2 separate regions of the Homo sapiens genome follow, and region 2 is linked to region 1. Evidence: promoter capture Hi-C in human tissues and cell types (Jung and others, 2019). All regions are on one chromosome and are shown on one strand. The core of a region is centred on a gene start or on the middle of the fragment in contact, and the rest is flanking DNA. Distances in the headings are between cores, read along the strand shown. Region 1 holds the start of ANAPC4 (anaphase promoting complex subunit 4). Region 2 overlaps LOC105374534 (a long non-coding RNA gene).

The links. The method cuts DNA at HindIII sites, captures the fragments that hold promoters and counts their contacts. A contact is called where the count stands out against the background at its distance.
Region 2: a fragment that was not itself captured here is called in contact with the fragment with the promoter of ANAPC4 in region 1 in 1 of the 25 tissues and cell types used here (H1 embryonic stem cells).

Annotation. Positions count from the first base shown.
Region 1 is chr4:25,375,728-25,378,767 of GRCh38, forward strand. It overlaps ANAPC4 (anaphase promoting complex subunit 4), which reads left to right and starts at 1,536. Exons shown (of 29, transcript NM_013367.3): 1 at 1,536-1,617; 2 at 1,691-1,829. The coding sequence starts at 1,701. RefSeq lists a silencer at 1,239-1,658 and enhancers at 1,779-1,838, 1,869-1,938. The HindIII fragment of the contact is 8,136 bases long and covers 1-3,040 here.
Region 2 is chr4:25,108,920-25,112,243 of GRCh38, forward strand. LOC105374534 (a long non-coding RNA gene) reads right to left here. Exons shown (of 4, transcript XR_925488.2): 1 at 2,494-3,324; 2 at 2,189-2,410; 3 at 1-370. Among named protein-coding and RNA genes, the nearest start is that of SEPSECS, 50 kb to the right of the region's middle. The HindIII fragment of the contact is 5,012 bases long and covers 1-3,324 here.

The sequences.
Region 1 (3,040 bases), core at 286-2,785:
TTGAAAGTTAAAGGACCTGCCGTCTGTTTCTTCTTTGAACAAGTGAAAGGTAGTAAAAAGTAGATGGCTTTCTACCATAGGTTTTAAGTTTAAGAACCCTAGGATGGTACTGTCACATTCTCTTAGGGAGGTCATAGCTGTGGGAACTGTCAACAGGTTGACTCATTTAAATGTGTCCTACATAAAGCAACATCAGATGAGTTCTGATTTACAAGTCTGCCAGGCTGGCCTGTGAGCCTCTGGGCAGAGTTCCCGTCCCATGCATTGCTGTAGCCTCAGTTCCTCCACATAGTAAATGCCCAAGTACCTATAGAAGAAATCGTGTGTGAGCCCACACTCTTTTTTTATATTTTAGAGACGGAGTCTGGCTCTGTTGCCCAGGCTGGAGTGCAGTGGCACAATCTCGGCTCACTGCAAGCTCCGCCTCACTGCAAGCCCCGCCTCACTGCAAGCTCCGCCTCACTGCAAGCTCCGCCTCCCGGGTTCACGCCATTCTCCTGCCTCAGCCTCCCCAGTAGATGGGACTACAGGTGCCCGCCACCATGCCTGGCTACTTTTTTGTATTTTTTAGTAGAGACGGGGTTTCACCATGTTAGCCAGGATGGGCTCTATCTCCTGTCCTTGTGATCCGTCCGCCACGGCCTCCCAAAGTGCTGGGATTACAGGCGTGAGCCACCGCGCCCGGCCCTGAGCCCACACTCTTTATTCGTTATGACGGTGCTGCAACTACCAATAAGTTGTGAGGGTTAAATGGGATGAGATGTCACAGTATTATTTGCCTGTTAGGGAGGTTTTAGGGCACGCGCCTCTTCTCTCCAAATTGGAATCACCCAAAGAGTTTTAGTAAATACTGGGCCCATCCAGGGTTAATTTTCTTCTAATTGGTTTGGGGTGCTGCTTGGACAGGGGGACTTTTAAAATTCTATACTGACCCACCAGGACTGACATGAGAACTACTCGCTTAGTAACTGTTAGAGGAGGCGCCAGCTGATCAGGACCTAAAGTTCATATTCTTTTTCATCTCCCCGTTGTCGCTGAAGCCTACCCCATAAACCCCTACCGTCCCTTTGCCCACAGCAGAGAATTTCCGGGAAAACGGGAAAGGTATGCAAGCATGCCCACACACGTGCACACACGGGTTCCCAAAAGACCTGCGTGTGGCCGCAGGGGCCTGCCCCGCCCTTCTCGGGCCCTTTCAGGTCCCGGCGCCCAGCGATCCCACCAGCACCTGGGTCCGGCGCGCGGCTCCCTCCCTCTCCGCGCCCCTCGGGGCTCCCTGCCCCGCCCGCGTGCCCCACCCTTCCTAGCTCTGCCCCATCGCTGCTCCCTGCCCCGCCCACGGGCCCCATCCTACCCCCACCTCGATCCGCCCCTCGCTCCTCCCTGCCCCGCCCACCGCGCCCCGTCCCTGTCCGCCCCTTCTGGCTCTCAGCACCCCCAAGACCGGTGCGCGCCCCGCCCCTCCTCCTCCTCTCGCGAGGCAGTCCCGACGCCGGAAGTGCCTGGAGCGCGCGACAGCGGCGGGGCGGGGCGGCCTGGAGGCTGTGGCGCGCGGCCGGCAGAGGGAGGGGAGAGGCCACTGGGGCCGTGTTAGTCTGCCGGTGGGGACTCTTGCAGGTACAGGCGCGGTCGGGGCTCCTCGTGGAGAGCCGGGGGCTCCTGCCGGCCTCTGACTGGGGTGTCGTTGCAGGGCCGTCCCCATGTTGCGTTTTCCGACCTGTTTCCCATCCTTCCGGGTGGTGGGAGAGAAGCAGCTCCCGCAGGAGATTATTTTCCTGGTCTGGTCGCCCAAGCGGGATCTCATTGCTTTGGCCAACACAGCTGGCGAGGTGAGTGAGCCGGCGGGAGCCCGCCTGTGCTGGGTCTGCTCCCGGGGGGCCCAAGAACACCGAGCCCGAGCCTGTTCATTCGGGCCACAGGCGGCCGGAGCCTCAGTTTCCCCTTCTGCAGACATGGCTGGCCACCTGCTACCCCTTCCCTGCCTCCCAGGACGGCAGTAAACTTTAAGTATATATGCGAAAGGTGATGTCTGTGCTATTTTCGGTACTTTTATGGCTAAAGTAACAGTTTTCACACAGCTTAACACCGTCACGCAATCCTGCTTCCCCAAGTCTTCTTCACTCATTGGTTTATTAGTTAAATGAACTTTTTAAAAAAGCCCACTATGTGCTGCTCATGAGCTAGACATAATGGTAGATGCAGGGACCCTGCCCTAAGTTTGCTTACAGTTTTAATAGCAGTAGGAAGAGTTATTGTCAAACTTCAGCTGCAAATGTGCCTGCATGTAGCTGCCACACAGGATATATTTAAGAACCTGGCTTCTCTTGTCCACGTTTTATAGTACGGGTTGGATAACCACCCTCCACTAAAAATACCTCTAAATTGGACAAGGAAGGCATGCATTGGATTCCAGACAGAACGTGCATGGGTGTTATCAGCATTTCTTGTTCACATAAAACTTCATCGAGTATAAACCAGTTGTACCCAACTTTCTGCTGAGAGTTATTACCTGCCAGCCATTTTGTAAGGAAACCTTCACCTGTGCATCTTTCCGCCTCTGGCTTGAGAGTTATCTGGCCATGTGAGAGTTGTATAGAGCCAAATTTGGAAACTAGGTGATAAGGAAATCTTAGCACCCTGCAGACTGTAGTCTGCACCATGTTATCTACCATGATCCAGTCGCCAGGGTATTGATGTCTAATTTTTCAGGGCCCTCCATGAAATCTAGCTAGTCTCCCTCCGCTGCCGGGATGCTTTGAAACTCTGTTGTGGCTCTAGAGAGCAGCAGGTGGTACCGTCACAGAAGTAGGAGGGAAGGTAGACGGGAGGCACATCCGTGCAATCAGATGGGTAGGCGTGATAGAGGGCACTGTTACATCCATTTTCTCAGTGAAGGAAGAAGCAAGGGCATTGTTTATGGGTGAAGATGGAGAAGAATATATTGGAAGTTTGAGGAGAAAGAAGAGGTATGAAAAAGCTAACAAAGCAGGTGGACTTGGGAAACCTAATAGGATTGCCAGTCAGTGTTAAGACCCACATG
Region 2 (3,324 bases), core at 807-3,306, 270 kb before region 1:
TCCTGGTGTCTGTCCGTGGAGTCCTCATGGTCCAAGATGGTTGCTTGAGCTCCAGCTACCATGTCTGTGTTCCGACTGCTTCCTCCCCACCCAGTGACCATCACTGAGCACACATCTCACTGATTCATGTGATGGTTCTAAACAAATCTATACATTATTTGAGAAAGGCGGGAGTCTGTGTCCCCTCCTCCTGAGACTGAGCCAGCCTTTGTGACTTACTTGTTACCAATAAAAGGCAATGGAAGAAAGGCCACATGCCTCATCCCAGAAAGCTCATGCAGTTTCCAGCTGGTACTCTTGCCAGGCGTGCTCTTGGGGACAGCCACCACTAAGTCTCACGCCCCAGGATCATCATGTTGAAAGGTCACACCTGAAGGGAATAGCGTTGTTATAAAGACTACTGGATAGGACCAGGCACGGTGGCTCACGCTTGTAATCCCAGCACTTTGGGAGGCCGAGGTGGGCGGATCATTTGAGGTCAGGAGTTTGAGACCAGCCTGGCCAACATGGTGAAACCCCATCTCTAGTGAAAATACAAAAATTAGCCGGGTGTGGTGTCGCGCACCTGTAGTCCCAGCTACTTGGGAGGCTGAGGTAGGAGAATCGCTTGAGCCTGGGAGGTGGAGGTTACAGTGAGTTGAGATCGCGTCATTGCACTCCAGACTGGGCAAAAAAAAAGAAAAAAAAAAAAGAAAAAAAAGACTACTGATGTCAGTTAGAGGGCCCAGCACTGGTCAGGCCACAGTTCCTGGGAAGTGGTTCCTCTCTCTACCCTGCTATGGAAGCAGTTGGGGAAGCTGCTAGGAGGGTGAGCTCTGGAGGCTGAGTGTTGGGAGTCACATGCTGCTTCCTCTGCTCATTGGCATGTGTCCTTATGCGTTACCTACCCACTGGGCCTCCTTTTTCATCTGTAAAATGGGTATGATAATTGTCACCACCTCACAGAATTGATATGAAGATTAGATTAGTTAATAAATGAGACAGTCTCAGAACTGTGTCTCACTCAATATCACCTGTTTTATTTCATGCCACCAATTATTTCATAAAATTACTGTTTCCTCATATATAGCTTTCTCTCCACTGGAATGTGGCTGTACAGGGCAGGCACTATGGTCACTGTGCTGGTGACCATCCTATCCTCACTGCTGGGTCACCACAACCTCGAAGAGTGTCTGTCACACAGCAGGGACTTGAATCAGTTTGGATCAGGTTTTTTTGCTTTTTCTTTTATTTTTGAGTTTGGATCAGGTTTGACTATGTGTAACAGATCAACTCAAAACAACAGTGGCTTTAAAAGGGAGCAGTTTATCTGCCTCTCAGGAATAAGAGGTGTCTGGAGGCGTACACCCCAGGAAAAGTTTTGTGAAACTGTCATTGTCAGAGGTCCAGACTCCTTCCATCTTGCTCCTGCAGCAGGTTTAGTGTGTCTACTTCATGGTCCATGATGGCTGCTTAAGCTGCAGCCATCACATCTGAATTCTGTGTCAGGAACAAAAAGGCACAAAGAGGCATAAAAAGGCATACCAGTTTTTTTTGGCGAAAATTTCTAGCAGTTCTATACAATAATTCAGTTTACATCTCATTGGCCTAACCTTAATGCATGGTTACATCAGCTAGGAAGCTTATCCCACTGGGAAGGGCAGTGTTATTCCCACCGGGAAGGGCAGCATTATTCCCAGTTAAAGTCAGGATTCTAAGGGACAGGAGGAAATATTGAGAAGAAATGAGCAGTCTCTGGCCAGTGCTCAGTAACTCTCAGACAGATAGATAAATGGTCCAGCCCGCCTCTGCCCTTTCCACCCACGCCCTGGGGGTTCCCACTGCCCTGCAGGCCAGCTGACCTGTGATTTGCGCCAGCTTTGTCTCTAGAAGGCTGTGACTACTGCCTGAGAGGGAGTCAAAAGGTAGGAAGGAGGCTGGCTCAGGAGAGGGGAATGGTGCAAGGCAGAAGCAGCCACTCTTCCATCCTTGGCATACCCATCCTTGACAATGACACTGTCATCAGTCATCCCTTCCATGCCCAGGGCCTGCTGTGGCAGGGACTTTGGGGGCTTGCTCCAAAGGAGTGAGGATAGCTAAGGACAAGACCAATCTTCTTTACTTCCTAAGATTTCATCACCCCAGGACTTCATCTGCTTGGTTACCAGATGGTTATCACCATCTACCCCCACAGGACACAAGCTGTCACCTTGTGGCCACCGTCAGTGCGAGTCAGCAGTCCTCTGGGCAGGTGTGAAGGTTCCAGCTGATGAATGGGAAACTTCAGGCCGGAGAGGGAGGGCAGAAGCCCTACTCAGGCTCTTGGGTCCCAAGAGCCCTGCATCCTCTTTGGCTCAAGGTGCAAAATCTTCTGAGAAGGTTGGGCCATAGTGGGTTCCGGAAACAGGTGCCAAGTCACAAGCTTCTGCTTCTGAAAGGGGAGAGCAGGGAGCTGGATTTGGGCAAATCTAGGCCAGGTTCACACATGCTGAGTGGACAGACTCTGGCTCCTACCTGGATCCTGCTCCTCTGCAGCTTTCTGTGCTCGTGGTCATTGTCCGTCTCGCTCTATCCTGGCCTCTTCTGCTGACCACCAGAGCCCCACAGACCACGACCTCTGGCCTGGGCTGAGTCTTCTGGCTGCTAGGAGTGGAGGATTCACAAAGTTCACAGTCTCATTAGTCCTCAGGAATAAAAGGTCCTACTTGGCTACTAGATGATTCCTTACCGCCATCACCAACACCAAAGCCAAGATCAAGGGAAGACCGTCACGGGTCTCTTGAGGACCTGAGCATGGAGGCGGGCACCAATGCAGAACACTGAGCTCTTCGTTGACTTTGGCAAAGTTCTTGTCCCATGCTATGCACTTTGCACCTAGCATCCTATTTCGTTTTCCCCTCAACCCCGTGCTGTTGAGACCATTGTTATTATCCCCATTTCACAGATGAGGAAACTGAGGTGTAGAGAGGTAGACTTGCCCAAGGACCTCACCTACAGGGAAGCCCCAGTGACCCTGTGGGGAGGTAAAAAAGGACATCTAGAAAACGTGTGATCTCCTCTTGGTGGCAGGGGCCTTGCTAGCAAAGCAAGAACATTGCAGACATGAATGCTGGATCTAGATATTTTGGTTATCACCTGGCATGACAGAGTGTTAGAGGTGGACTGACCCGGGAGAGGACCAAATCCAAAATTCTCCTTATGCAGAGGAGGAAACGCAGGCCAGAGTGGGGAAGCACCTTGCCCTGGCTTCATGTCAGCAGGTCCAACGTGCAGCCTGCTCTCATTTAGTTCGGACATTTCTTTTCCCTGATGAGTTGCTATTTTGTAAAAAGGCTTTTCTTTGGT